Regions from separate parts of the Homo sapiens genome. Here regions 1, 2, 3 and 4 are each linked to region 5. Evidence: promoter capture Hi-C in 16 types of primary human blood cells and fetal thymus (Javierre and others, 2016). All regions are on one chromosome and are shown on one strand. Each heading gives the region's core, a stretch centred on a gene start or on the middle of the fragment in contact. The rest is flanking DNA. Distances are from core to core; before and after follow the strand shown.

What was found. Contacts are between HindIII fragments. The CHiCAGO score rates a contact against its expected background, and 5 or more counts as called.
Region 1: a contact is called between a fragment that was not itself captured here and the fragment with the promoter of TTC8 in region 5, in 2 of 17 cell types (monocytes and M1 macrophages). The highest score is 6.5, in monocytes.
Region 2: the fragment with the promoter of NRDE2 here is called in contact with the fragment with the promoter of TTC8 in region 5 in 2 of 17 cell types (total B cells and non-activated CD4 T cells); the score reaches 7.4 in total B cells.
Region 3: a contact is called between a fragment that was not itself captured here and the fragment with the promoter of TTC8 in region 5, in 4 of 17 cell types (naive B cells, total CD4 T cells, fetal thymus and 1 more). The highest score is 7.3, in naive B cells.
Region 4: a fragment that was not itself captured here is called in contact with the fragment with the promoter of TTC8 in region 5 in 1 of 17 cell types (naive CD4 T cells); the score reaches 5.7 in naive CD4 T cells.

What each region holds. Positions count from the first base shown.
Region 1 is chr14:89,915,850-89,918,549 of GRCh38, reverse strand. The region is part of intron 5 of EFCAB11 (EF-hand calcium binding domain 11); the gene reads left to right. Among named protein-coding and RNA genes, the nearest start is that of EFCAB11, 38 kb to the left of the region's middle. The HindIII fragment of the contact is 4,035 bases long and covers 1-2,700 here.
Region 2 is chr14:90,330,493-90,333,192 of GRCh38, reverse strand. It overlaps NRDE2 (NRDE-2, necessary for RNA interference, domain containing), which reads left to right and starts at 1,252. Exons shown (of 14, transcript NM_017970.4): 1 at 1,252-1,352. The coding sequence starts at 1,289. RefSeq lists a silencer at 1,019-1,168 and an enhancer at 1,319-1,498. The HindIII fragment of the contact is 5,093 bases long and covers 1-2,700 here.
Region 3 is chr14:89,961,683-89,964,382 of GRCh38, reverse strand. TDP1 (tyrosyl-DNA phosphodiesterase 1) reads right to left here. Exons shown (of 17, transcript NM_018319.4): 3 at 710-1,275. The coding sequence starts at 1,268. Among named protein-coding and RNA genes, the nearest start is that of TDP1, 7.1 kb to the right of the region's middle. RefSeq lists an enhancer at 308-1,507. The HindIII fragment of the contact is 1,634 bases long and covers 440-2,073 here.
Region 4 is chr14:89,938,499-89,941,198 of GRCh38, reverse strand. All of the region lies in intron 3 of EFCAB11 (EF-hand calcium binding domain 11), which reads left to right. Among named protein-coding and RNA genes, the nearest start is that of EFCAB11, 15 kb to the left of the region's middle. The HindIII fragment of the contact is 1,484 bases long and covers 562-2,045 here.
Region 5 is chr14:88,823,218-88,825,917 of GRCh38, reverse strand. It overlaps TTC8 (tetratricopeptide repeat domain 8), which reads right to left and starts at 1,267. Exons shown (of 15, transcript NM_144596.4): 1 at 1,097-1,267. The coding sequence starts at 1,210. RefSeq lists an enhancer at 1,256-1,615. The HindIII fragment of the contact is 2,519 bases long and covers 1-2,037 here.

The DNA of each region.
Region 1 (2,700 bases), core at 21-2,520, 1.1 Mb before region 5:
TTTTTTTTTTTGAGATGGAGTCTCGCTCTGTTGCCCAGGCTGGAGTGCAGTGGTGTGATCTCGGCTCACTGCAACCTCCACCTCCTGGGTTCAAGCGATTCTCCTGCCTCAGCCTCCCAAGTAGCTGGGATTACAGACGTGTGCTACCATGCCCGGCTAATTTTTGTATTTTTAGTAGAGATGGGGTTTCACCATGTTGGTCAGGCTGGTGTGGAACTCCTGACCTCAGGTGATCCACCTGCCTTGGCCTCCTAAAGTGCTGGGATTACAGGCGTGAGCCACCACGCCCAGCCTTCCTTTAATTTTATTTCTGAGGAAAAGGGGTCTCTTCTTTTTTTCCTAATTCCTCTCTTTTGTTCTGGTCTTCTCTCTTCCCCTTTTTTTGATCTAAGACATTTCTCCATCAGCCATTCCCACTTCTGTTTATAATGCCTATCCCTGCCTGAAGATATACTCATATCCATCCTAGAAAGCTGCTCTCCCCAACTAAGTACCTCCAGTTGTCCCCTGTCCTTTTTCTCAGGGTTCATTGTTGCCAGCTTCTCACAGCATTCACACCCTGCCTGGAGAGCCAGTCCTCGATTCTCGCTCTTCCCCAGCTTTCATTGCACTGTATTGTCCACTGCAGTCACAGTGCTTCCCGTTCATTGATTACCAACTACGTGTTGCCTTACTTAGTCCTTACAGTGACTCTCCACATCAACGGCATTTCTATCCATTTTACAGTTAAAGCTGAGAGTCCTTTATTGCTCAATTCAAACCAAACAACTAATTCGCAATTATTATTATTTTTTTGGTCAAAGAAGTCACAGAACCAAGCCCCTAGGGCAATCAGAATTTTTTATTTGATTATAATCATGTTGCTGGTACTTGTTAATGGTCAAGTGTTTTCATAACCTCAAAATGTTATTTTCTTGTTTAGAAATGCCACTGCCTAGTAATGATAATGATGGAGTAGACTGAATTTACAGGTAGAATAAAATGTCTGCACTCCCATGTTAATTGCAGCATTATTCACAATAGCCGAGATATGGAAACCCATATTAAGTGCCCACCACTGGATGAATGGATAAAGAAATTGTGGTATGTGTGTACAGCAGAATATTATTCAGCCTTAAAAAAGAAGGAAATCCTGCCATTTGCAACAGCATGGAGGAATCTGGGGACATTATGCTAAGTGAAAGAAGCCAGACACAGAAAGACAAATATTGCATGATATTACTTATATGTGACATCTAAACTAGTCAAACTTGGAGAAAAAGAGTGGAATGGTAGTTGCCAGGGGCTGGGAAGTGGGGAAGATGGGGAGATGTCGGTCAGAGGATACAAAATTTTAGTTACAGGGTGAATGAATTCTAGTGATCTAGTGTACAGCATGGTAACTATAGTTAATGTGTTGTGTACTTCAGATTTGCCAAGGGAGCAGATCTTAAGTGTTTTCAACACACACATACACACACACACACACACACACACACACACACACACACACACACGAAGCATGTCAGGTGATGGATATGCTAATTAGCTTGACTGTGAGTCATTACACAAAGTATACTTTTATAAAAACGTCATCTTGTATACCTTAAATATAGACAATTTTTTGTCAGTCATACCTCAAAAAATGTCTACACAGACTTAGTGAGACTCATGACATGAGTCATGTTAAAGGATATAAGAAACAAATAAAAGTTTAAAAATGCTTTTCTTAACCCAAGTCTTATTGTTAGGATTCCTCATAATCCAGTCATGACTTCAATTAGAAATCCTTGCCGTGGGATATCAAGACTCTTGTCCAAGGAGAGGAAGGGGCAGGAGGGTCTCACTCTTGTTCTCTCCTTGTAAAAATTTAACTCTGTTTGCAGGAGAGAGTATTTGACGAATACATGAACAAATAAATGAATGAAATGAACGAAGGAATAGAATTAATCTGATCAAAGTTTACATGTTCAAATTATGTGTTGAATTGGATAGAGCAGCTGCTGGCCCTTACTTTTTTCTGGGCCTATTTCAAATGGTCTTCTTTACTAGGCTTTCAATTGGAGATTTAGACTTGGAGGCTTTAACAAATATGAATTGAGTACACATTTGTATAGCGATTTAAACTGCTATTATCACAAAATTGTCACAGTAGTTTTAAACTCTGTCAGATGGCTTTTAACCAAACCCTGCCATCAGAGTCAAATTTGATTCTTTGGATGGTTCTTTCCTTTTTTCTGTCTCTTTCACATTGTCTAGTAAAGAAGTTTCTTCAATGACCAGTTTTGTCATAGAGTTGGTGCCATTTATTCTGTGGGTTACAAATTTATCATCACAAGTAGCTAGATGTACTTCTCATAGACAACTTGTATCCACAAATTTGTTGTTTTTTTCTTTTTTTCTTTTTTTTTTTTCTGAGCCATTCTCCCTAGAAAACACAAATTGTTTTGGGGGGAAAAATTAGACTGTTCTTCAGGGGTATTTATTTTCATGATTCACTGTGCAGAGATCGGAGTTGTGCCTTAAGGGCTTGGCTCTGCTCTCTTGATACTGGTATCCATTGCTAGGTGTGGCTCAATTAAACAGGAAGGATGGCTAGATAGCATATATATTCACATGTCAAATGGCAGCATCCATCTTTGAGACAGGAATCTTGGTGGGAAAAGTTCAATTTTTTAACAAATGTGAAATTACCTCCTCAATCATTTTTATTTCCGGTTA
Region 2 (2,700 bases), core at 3-2,502, 1.5 Mb before region 5:
AGCCCAGGAGTTCGAGACCAGCCTGGGCAACATGGTGAAACCCTGTCTCTATTAAAAAAAAAAAAATTAAGCCAGACATGGTGGTGTATGCCTGTGGTTCCAGCCACTTGGGAGGCTGAGGTGAGGGGATTGCTTGAATCGAGGAGTTCGAAGCTGCAGTGAGCAGAGATCGTACCACTACACTCCAGCCTGGGTGGCAGAAGGAGACCTTGTCTCAAAATAAATAAATAAGGGTCACCTCAGTGACATAAGTACTTTAGTACATCTAACAGAATTCACAAGAATTACTTGTGAATTGCTTGTACTCTGCCTACCTTCTTATTTCTCCATCTATCTTAAAAAGGTCTTTTTACAGTTTGTCCAATCAGAATTATAATGAGGCCACAAATATGTTGTATTTGCTTGATGTGTCTGTAAGATCTTCGTATCTATTACAATCTCCTGCCCTCTTAAAGCCCTTGATATGTTAAGGAAGCACGGTTGTTTTCTATAATTTCCCATATTCTAGATTTGGCTAATTGTTTCTTGGTAGTACAAAGTCTTCTAAGTTGTTCCTTTACTCTCTATATTTCTGGTAGCAAGTGTGATTAGATTTTGGGTGGGAGGAACCGGGGTCAAGAATGCTTCACAGACAGGTATTTCCTAACTATCAAAGACCCTTGAACTTGATGGGACTTTCCATTTTTCCTTGTTCTGGGGTATTTAATATGGTAACCTGATTGAAGTTCGGATATCTCACATGACTTTGAGCCGAACTTGCAGTCGTAATTCACATAATAGCTAACACATATTAAGTGCTTTTCATGGGCCGGACTCAATGCTAGGCCCTTTATAAATATGTTCATTTAATCTTCTCAATATTTTGCAGATAAGGAAAGTAATGCTTAGAGCGTTTAAGTTGACCCAGTTAGCAAGGATGGTGTGAATTTAGGGGTCGAACTGGAATCCCAATTTCCTTAGTCCCTTTCGCGGTCAACAATTCCCTTCTCCGGTTTTCGCAGTTCCGGTTCTCACAGGGTCCCAACCACTAGGAACCCGTCACTCCTCGCTCCGCCCCCCTTGGCCCCGCCCCACCCTGCTTTGCCCTGCCTCTCCCTGCCCCGCCGCGCCCCAGTCCCTTGACGACCCTCCTCTCTGGGCCCCGCCCCTCCCGCTTCGGGGTCAAGCCCCAGAGAGCGCCGCGAAAACCACATTTCCCAGAGTGCACCGCGACGGCAGGGGTCCTCAGACCGGCGCTCGCTCGCCGGCGCCATCCCTATAGAGAAGAACGGAGGTACGGCCTGTGGTCATGGCGCTGTTCCCAGCCTTTGCGGGGCTTAGTGAGGCTCCCGATGGCGGGAGCTCCAGGAAAGGTAAGCACACAAACGAGCCGAAGAAGGCACCTGGGGGGCTTAAGAGGCTGTTTCTCGGGCCCAGGTCTAGACTTTTGCTTTGGATTTGTGTATCCATTTGTATCCCAGAGTTCTCCGCGGCGCTGCAAAGCCTTCTGGGAAAGGCTCAATCCCTCCGAGGTCTGGGGCCCAGAGGCCTGTTCTGGACCAAGGTTGTAGAGTTATGGAGGGGTGGAGAAAGACCAGCAGATGCCCTGGAGCTGGGACTTCTGTACGATGTTGTTAGGTCCTGTTCTTCTTTTCGAGCCTCAGTTACTTCATCTTTAAATTGGGAATAATGATACTCGACATCTCGAGGAAACCCTTGATGCAAATGCAGAATGTTTTTATTACATATTACTTCCTTTCCTGTTATACTTATTTCTGAAATGCTTATTAGATTGGTATTACTTAGCGGCCTAGAGCTAGGGGATTAGTATCCAAAACCTAATCAGTTTCTCTCTGGAGGGGCACAGCACCCAGTGAAAATAACTAACATTTATTCTTGAGGGCCTAGTGTGTATCAGGTTATGGCTTTACACATTTTACTTAAGTCCCAGACATTTCCAGCAGAGCTGCATTGTTCAAAATTGGGGTACATAGTTCATTTAAGAAGTAATTAATCCTGGCCAGGAGCAGTGGCCCACACCTGTAGGTGGAAGGATAGTTTGAGCCCGGGAGTTCATGACCATCATGATCAACATAGCGAGACTCCTGTCTCTTAAAAAAAAAGCCAGGCGTGGTGGTGCACACCTATAGTATCAGCTCCTCAGGAGGCTGAGGTAGGAGGATTGCTTGAGCCCAGAAGTTTGAGGCCGCAGTGAGCCATGATCGTGCCGCTGCATCCTGCCCTGGGGTGGGGGGACCTTGTCTCTAAAAAAAAAAGAAAAAAAAGTAATTCTAAATTATGTGCCATATGTGACAGGGCGCAATTGAGTCTTACCTGTCTGTTATATCCTCTAATATAGTTCCTACACTTTCTGTAACGTTTCTCCTAATTTTTTTTTTTTTTTTTGAGACAGGGTCTCACTCTGTTGCCCAGGCTGGAGTACAGTGGCACTGTCATAACTCACTGCCGCCTCAGACTCCTGGGCTTAACTTCCTGCCTCAGCCTCATGAATAGCTGGAACTACTGGTGTGCACCACCAGGCCTGGCTAATTTTTTTTAATATTTAGTAGAGACGAGGTCTCACTGTGTTGACCAGGCTGGTCTCGAACTCCTGAGCTCAAGCGATTCTCTATCTGAGCCTCCCAAAGTTCTAGGATTACAGGCATGAGCCACTGCGCTTGTCCTATTTCTCATAATTGTGAGTAATTTCTTGTGTAAAAT
Region 3 (2,700 bases), core at 7-2,506, 1.1 Mb before region 5:
GTGTTAACAATCCATACAGCAAATGAGTGGTGAGGCCAGAAAGCAGATTCTAGAGCTCCTGCTCTTCCTCCTGCAGGTGCTCCCTGAGGAATAAGGAGAGCAAACTAAGGCCATCTTTTGATCCATAACTGAAACATCTATTTGCACTCAGGCACTATTTTGTTTTTTCTTCTTCTTCTTCACCAGGAACTAAAACCAGGCTTTTAAGCAGTGGTTCTCAAACTTGACTGGGCAGTAGAATCCCCTCAAGGGCTCGTGAAAACACAGACTGCAGGATCTCACCCTCAGAGTCCAATTTAATGAATCGGGAATGGGGCCCGAGAATTTGCATTTTAACAAGTTGCAGGTGATGCTGAGGCTGCTGGTCCAGGGCCCATGGAGAACTACTACTGTTGTCAAGTATTTGCTACCTTGTTGATAAACTGTTACTCATCAAGCTTCATCTTAAAAAGTTAAATAATGCTAAACATCGTGCTAAGTGATATAAGGGGTTGAGCTACAGGGTTTTGAGAACACACGCTCTGCCTGAGTTAAGTAAACAGTCTGCTGTTATACTAATGCACTTGCCTGTCAAGAATTTTTTTCCTGAAAGTAGTTAAGAACACAAAGAAGAGTTCTCAGAAACTATTCTAGGCTGCCCTCCTTGTTTCACGGAGGAGAGACTCTCAAGGGCAATTCAACAGCTCCTTGACACCCAGCATCCTCTTACCCTTGATGTGGAGGGCTCCAGAGTTATACTTTGGCTTAACTCCAGAGACTCTAGTGAGGTAAAACTGGAAGGGGTTCCCTTTATCCAGCATGTCCCAAATGTCCTGGCCCTCCCCTGATGTCTCATACTCGTCTTCCTCCTCTTTGAGCCTGTGGCAGGCGGGAGCGCCATGATTTTCAGTTCTTTGGGCAGTGCCGTCATTGGGAGCAGAGATGTCTTTCTCCTTTTTGATCACCACTTTCTCAGCCTGCTTCTGCGGCATTTCTGGTTGCAGCTCATCATCACTGCTGGACAGACACCAGCCGAGGTCCTCCTGGGAACCGCTTTTCTGCCTTTTGGGAGGTAAAACTGAATCTGTATTGCTGAATTTCACAGGTGATATTTTCCTCTTGTGTGCAGCTTTCTGGGCCTCGGAACAGGTGTACCTGGGCTCATTTGCTGCTCCTTGCCTGGCACAGAGAAGAGAAGAGGTAGATGGCTTGTCTGGTTTTGGCTTTTCTTCCTCACTTTCATCACTACTAGATATGGTCCACCTCCCATAATCGCCTTCCTGAGACATTATACTCCTGGAAATGAAAAGTGGAAACATCAGCATTTCCCATTCATCAGGGCATTGGCAAAATAACTTTATTGCTCTCAACTTCCCTGTCAGATGAGCTGACACCTTCCAGAGGCTGAACCACCTAACATCAGCTGCTTTTTGGGTGTTTATAAGCACATTACCAGAATCCACTATCAGATTCTGCCAAATCACAAGCAAAAGTCCTGGTCACCTTTCTTTTTTCTTCCTTTTTTTTTTTGAAACAGGGTCTCGCTCTGTCACCCAGCTGGAGTGGTGCAGTGGTTCAATCTCAGCTGACTGCAACATCTGCCTCCTGGGCTCAAGCAATCCTCCTGCCTCATCCTCTCGAATAGCTGGAACTACAGGTGCACGCCATCACGTCTGGCTAATTTTTTTTTTCTTTTTTTTTGGTAGAGACAGGGTTTCATTATTGTTGCCCAGGCTGGCCTTGAACTCCTGGACTCAAGAGATCCACCCACCTTGGCCTTCCAAAGTGCTGGGATTACAAGTATAAGCCACCATGCCTGGCCTTGGCTTTCAATCTAAACTTTGTTCTTAGATGTCCTAGGAAAGGGGGTTGAAGAATGCATCAAGACAAATGCCAAAATAAAACAAACATTCATTCTTGACCCCGAAACTTCCAATAAGCGTTTGGGATTAAGGTCCATTTAATCTATGTTCAAATGCTTAAGGTCAAATTGGAATTTACAAACCTAGCCTTCACCCAAGTACAGGCACCCACAGGACTTCAGTGATTATGTATGTCTTACTTCCCAAAAGACAACCCATTTACCATAAAGCTTAACAAAGTCTTCAAGAGGAAAGCCAAATGACCACTTAGGTATGTACATTATTTACACTACTTCCATGAGGACCCAACTAATTATAATTAGTTGGATATAATTATATCAAGATATAATTATCCTATTGGCTACATCATAAATCTACTAACACCTACACAGAAATAACTTGTACTGAAGCAACACACTTTTATTTTTTAAGCCCCACAGTCAAATTCTACTTTCTTGTTCTGAGAACAGGAAAGTACACGAAACAGTCACTTTTGCTGTTACCTACCAAATCTTGTCAATTCAGTGGTAAAGGACTATCTAAGTAGACTTTCCAGACAGCTAAAGAACAGTTCCTCAATGTGATACTTTTAACATTTTAGCACAAGACCCAGGGGAAAATTACAAAACTCAGTAGTCTGTGCTCAGATCAACAGTATCTTCGAGTTTCTGCTGTTTTAATGAGGCTGGAAAAGATGCATTGAGTGGAGTAAACCAAGATGGTGACACTCCCTTCACAAAACCTACATTCCCCAAAAAAGAGAATTCAACATTATTCTACATCAAAAGATTTGCAAATCAATACATATGCATATGTCTCTAGATGAGAACTAAAAATAAAAATCTTGGCTAAGGGGACC
Region 4 (2,700 bases), core at 54-2,553, 1.1 Mb before region 5:
GGGTCCATGCAACAAAACAATTTTTCTAGAGAGGCATAAGTCCTCCTGCCCTGGGATAGTTCTTCTGTGATGTCTCATGGAGGGGAGGCTGCTGAGTGGATGTCAGTGTCGATGAGCTGTTCAATAAATGCAGTAGTGAATTTTGTAAGGCTGTTGCTTCATCTTTTCTCAATGTAGACCAGTGTTTAATGTCAGGGCAATTCTATGAAGGGCAAAGGCTGTGTGTTCCAAGTATACATATCTCAGGTGGTCTGACTTTATTCCAGAATAAATTGTAGATCATTCTATATAAATAACAACAGCTAAGATTTACAGGGCTTTTCTTTATGCTAAAAGCTATAAATAAGAACTGAATGAGCATTGTCCCACTGAATCCTCATACATTTGTCTCTTTGTTATTATCTCGGATCTATGTAAAATATGCCTAAGATTAAAAACCAGAAAAAAGGACTTCAGAATTTTGTTTTCACTAGGCGATTAGATTGAGCATCTTTTCTGTTTCCTTATACTATTGCCATTTTAAATTAATGAACATATTCTACTTTGATACTTGAAAAAGCTTTCCAGGAACTTACTTTTAACCCTCAACTTTGAATGATGGAAAAATCAAAGCGATTGATTCATCATAGCAGTAATTATGGACTGTGTGACTGCTATCCAGTGTAAGGTCCAATTGAAAAATAATTTGTGGATGAGTAGGTTAATGGTCAGTTGGCTTGCATGCTTTTATTTATTAATATCTTGTCTGGCTTGTTCTAAACAAGACAGTTGACTATTAAAGGTATTATTTTTCTAAATTTAAATATCCTTTTTCTGGTCTTAGTTTCTGTCATAAAACACCTGCTGTTGTGTATGGTTTTTTATTTTGGCTCCTATGGAACAAAGATCAGGGTATAGCAGGGATGAAGGTTTTGGTTGATTTCAGATTTCAATTGGCTTCTTAGTTCTTTTCTATAATCAGGAAACTGCATACACATTAAGGTTACCTTATTTTGAAATTATAATCGTAGCATTTTATGGAATCTCCTACAGATATTCACCCATCCATGTTTATTTAATTACCCATTTAGAAAACAGTGAATATGTTTCACTATACAGATGGGGAAGAATTAGGAGACACAGACACTGACCTAAAGACATTTAAAAATATATATTTTATGTGGGCTGGGCACGGTGGCTCACGCCTGTAATCCCAGCACTTTGGGAGGCCGAGGAAGGTGGATCACGAGGTCAGGAGTTCAAGACCAGCCTGGCCAACATGGTGAAACACTGTCTCTATTAAAAATACAAAAATTAGCTGGGCGTGGTGGTGGGTGCCTGTAATTGCAGCTACTCCAGAGGCTGAGGCAGGAGAATTGCTTGAACCTGGGAAGCGGAGGTTGCAGTGAGCTGAGATCCCGCCACTGCACTCCAGCCTGGGCGATAGAGCAAGACTCCATCAAAAAATGTGTATATATCTTATGTGATAGGGAAGATGAAAGAAATATTGCCACTTCTTTTACGGCCAGATGTTATATTACTATTATAGGCAAGAAAACCTATAAGAGTTCAGGAGGGCAGCACTGCCCCCTAGAGGAGGTGTGGGCCTGGAGCTGGACATGCTGAAGGATGGGTGGGATTTGAAATAGTGATGGAGCAAAGGAGAAAAGAGGCGGTAAATGAATGCAGGGCAGGTGCCAGCTGTGTGCCCCGCCTCCTGCTCCTGTTGCTGGTGCTGTGCTCTCTGTGTAGAGTTCTTCAGAGACCCTCTTCTGTGCTGTCCACGTCAGTGCCTGAAATCTTTTCTTCCTAGATCCCTGTTCTTTTACAAATCTCTCGCCCATCTCAGATTTGCATACCTAAATATATCAGCTATCATGCTGTTAATGCAGTCCTCCCATTAACAGAATCTACTCTTCTTGGATTTTTACTTTTTTTTTTTAACCTCTGCAACAGCAAGGAATATAGTATGTAACTATAAATGAATTGTGTCCAGCCGAGTCAGCTGGCATGATGAGAGCTGGGAAGGATTAAGGACCGGTGTGCACGGAAGGAAGGATGAAGCTTTAAAGTCCAGAATAAGGTATTAGGACTTTGTGGTGTTTGACACTGAGGAACCTTTTAAGCTTTATGAGCAGGAGATGTGTATAATAAAAAAGTAACAATTCCTGCCTGGGTTTGATAGAAATAAGATTTTATTGGTTCAGATTTCTCTATTCTACTGTAACTGGTTTTTTTTTTTTTTTTTGCTTTGTTGTTGTTGTTGTTGTTTTGTTTTTTGAAATGGAGTTTTGCTCTTGTTGCCCAGGCTGGAGTGCAGTGGCGCGGTCTTGGCTCACTGCAACCTCTGCCTCCCGGGTTCAAGCCTGGAGGTGAACATGTGATTCTTCTGCCTCAGCCTCCTGAGTAGCTGGGATTACAGGTGCGGCACCACCTCACCTGGCTAGTTTTTGTGTTTTTAGTAGAGACAAGGTTTTACCATGTTGGCCAGGCTGGTCTTTAACTCCTGACCTCAGGTGATCTGCCTGCCGTGGCCTCCCAAAGTGCTGGGATTACAGATGTGAGCCATCACACCTGGCCTCTAACTGTTTTTACTCATTTTCCCTCCAATTATATAGTAAAACTTGATTTCTTCCATTAAGGTAGATTATTTTCTCTTTATTTCCCTACACATCCATAGTAAGCTGGAAGAAAATATTATCCTCTGAATTCATTTATCAT
Region 5 (2,700 bases), core at 18-2,517:
TGTGAACTAACAACAGAACCTAGCTTTGTATTACCACTAACGTAGGCTGTTCTAAGAGAGATGTACTATCTGAAAGACAAAATGTTCATCTCAGCAGGTTATCATCCATCATCCATTTGCTGGGAGCTAAGGCAGAGCCTAGTAACAGCATTCACACTCAGGCCTCCGCTTTTGTAACTCCCTTCAATTTTCCATTTTTTCTAACATCTCCAAGGCAACACCACTAGAGGAAAAGCTAGGGAACTAGAACTACGTAGGTATATTCCGCACTTACTAAAAGCACTGACAAACTGCCGCAGCGCTACTTCTGTTCTCCCATTTTCTCCTTTTTTGCCTATTCCAGGAGCCACCTGCCCACCAGAATTGTACCGCTCACGTACATTGTATACTACCTTTTCCACTCGCTATACACATTACTCTAGTTTAAGTTCTCTTTTCATCAATGCCATCATTCCTTCTTGTAAGGAGCCTTTCTTTCCCATTTCTCCCTCCTACAATTAGAGCTTCCCTTGCCTAGGTAATTTTTTAAATAATGAATGTATCTTTCTCCCTCCTAGATTCTCATTCTTCTAATTTGCATATTTGCCTCAAGCTAAACTCATGGCCTCCTTCACTCTTGGACAACAGTCTAAAGATGAGGTGGGAGGATCACATGTTCGATCCAAAAGGAAGAAGGCAGCTATGTTAACAGGAGGTGGAGAGTCACAGATCTTTGTTTATGCATATTTTTTAGAAATTAACAACGCACACGCTGAGAGCTTAAAGCCCATCAATATGCAAGTATAAACGAATTATCAAAGTTCCTCGTCAAGTAAAGTTCAGGGCTCTCATTCTGGGACACGTATAGGGGAGGGGAGGCTGAAAATTGTGAGGAGGGGGCGGTCATGGCACAGAACTTGCTATCCCCGTGGACGTGGCGGACAGCGGACCCGCTAGTCACAGCTCCACAAGGTCTCGCTCCGGGCGCCTCCGAGGGCCGAACGGTCAGCCCCGCCTCGGGCCTTCCTCCCCGGCCTCCCAACCCGGGGCTGGGATATGCCCCAGACCCCGCAGCCTCAGCGTCAGGATGCACAGGCTGACGGGAGCTGGCCGGTACCTGGTCATAAGGGGACTTCTCCAGCATCTGCGTGCATAGATCGGCGCAGAGCTGGAACTTCCTGCGCCTAAAATAGCTCCAGGCCAGGAGCAGCGGCTCCATCTCCGAGCTCATGGCTGCCGGTGCGGCCAGCGAAGGCCCAGCGCTCCAGGAGAGAGGTGGGCGTGGAGTGAAGAGCTGGCGGCGTCCGACTCTGCCCGGCAACCCGCGACGGCTGGGGCCTTGTCCGAGAGGTGCCCGCAGCGCGCCTGAGAACAGGAAAAAGAAAAACAACCGCAAGCAGAACTCGGCTACAGGGCTTGCCTAAACTTGGTTGGAAAAAGATGTCTACTTTTAAAGGCTACAGGTTTCATTGATTTTGAAAAGAAGGCACCGCGGCTAAACAAAAAGGTAGTGAGTTAGACACCTGCCCCTGGGGTCCCCCACCCTCCCAGGAGGCGCAGCTGCCTAGCAACCGAATGCTCTGCCTGCCCTGCAGGTCCGGAAGAGTCCCTGGAGTTGATCTCTGTCTGGTGTCTGTCCTACTTCTTCCATTCGCTCGTTTCCATCCCTTTCGCTTTACCTTCCGATTCTAGAAATACAAACAAGTAAACAGCTTCCACAGTACCATCCACCCATCAAGACCTAAAGTCCTAAATCCTGAAATTGTCCGCTGTTTCTCGAGGTCCTTCCCACCGAATCTCAACATCTGAACTGCAAGTGGTTTGCTTTTACTCATTTTACAGATGAGAAACTGAGATAGACTCAGAGAAGAGAAATTATTAAAATTGCATTGAGTTAGGGAGCTGGAACTGCAATCTGGTTGACTACAAGTTGCTAATACATTTGTTAATTCGACTCACATGGTGATTCCGGATTGTAAATTGGTGACAGTTTTACCAAACTAGATAATGTGTGCAAAATAATAATAATAATAATAATAATAATAATTTTTAAAAGCTTTGTGAAACATCGTCTCCTGGCACTTGCTGTTTGGCAAGGGTTTACTTGTGCAGAGTGATTTCTTCAAACACAATTCTGACTTTTCTCTAGAAATTTGCACAGATGACAAATATGCTTAAAATTGCAATGGTTATGAAAAGAGAGGTGTGACCGGCTAAATCCAGGTAGGCTTTTCTCAAACCACTGGGGTCTGAGAAAACATTAGACATTCTATTTAATCCACATATTTATATTTTTCATAGGTATTAAAATGAAACTTATGCTTCTAAACTAAGAAATTTATTGTTACCTTTTATTCTCTACTAAGCAGTCTTTCTTGAATTGTTGTATTTTGGAAGTCAGTAATTATCAGGATTGTCATTGTTACAGTTAAGTGTATTGTCATTAGTCTATTTGTGTTCTCCTGGAACTGCCGGTAGAAATGTAATCTCCCTAAAGGTCCTAATGAAGCAGCCCATGGTTTCTGAGTGTCAAATTTTTAAGAACGCACATGCCGACAATTGACAATTGGGCTCAATATTTCACAGCGTCTTTTTGTTTTCTGGTACACTGTAAGCAGATTACTATGTAAGTGATTTTCAACCCTACTAGAGAAAGTGAAGCACAGAGAAACCCTTTAAAAGGGTCAGTTTCACAAATGATGCTAGATCTCAGTTCATAGA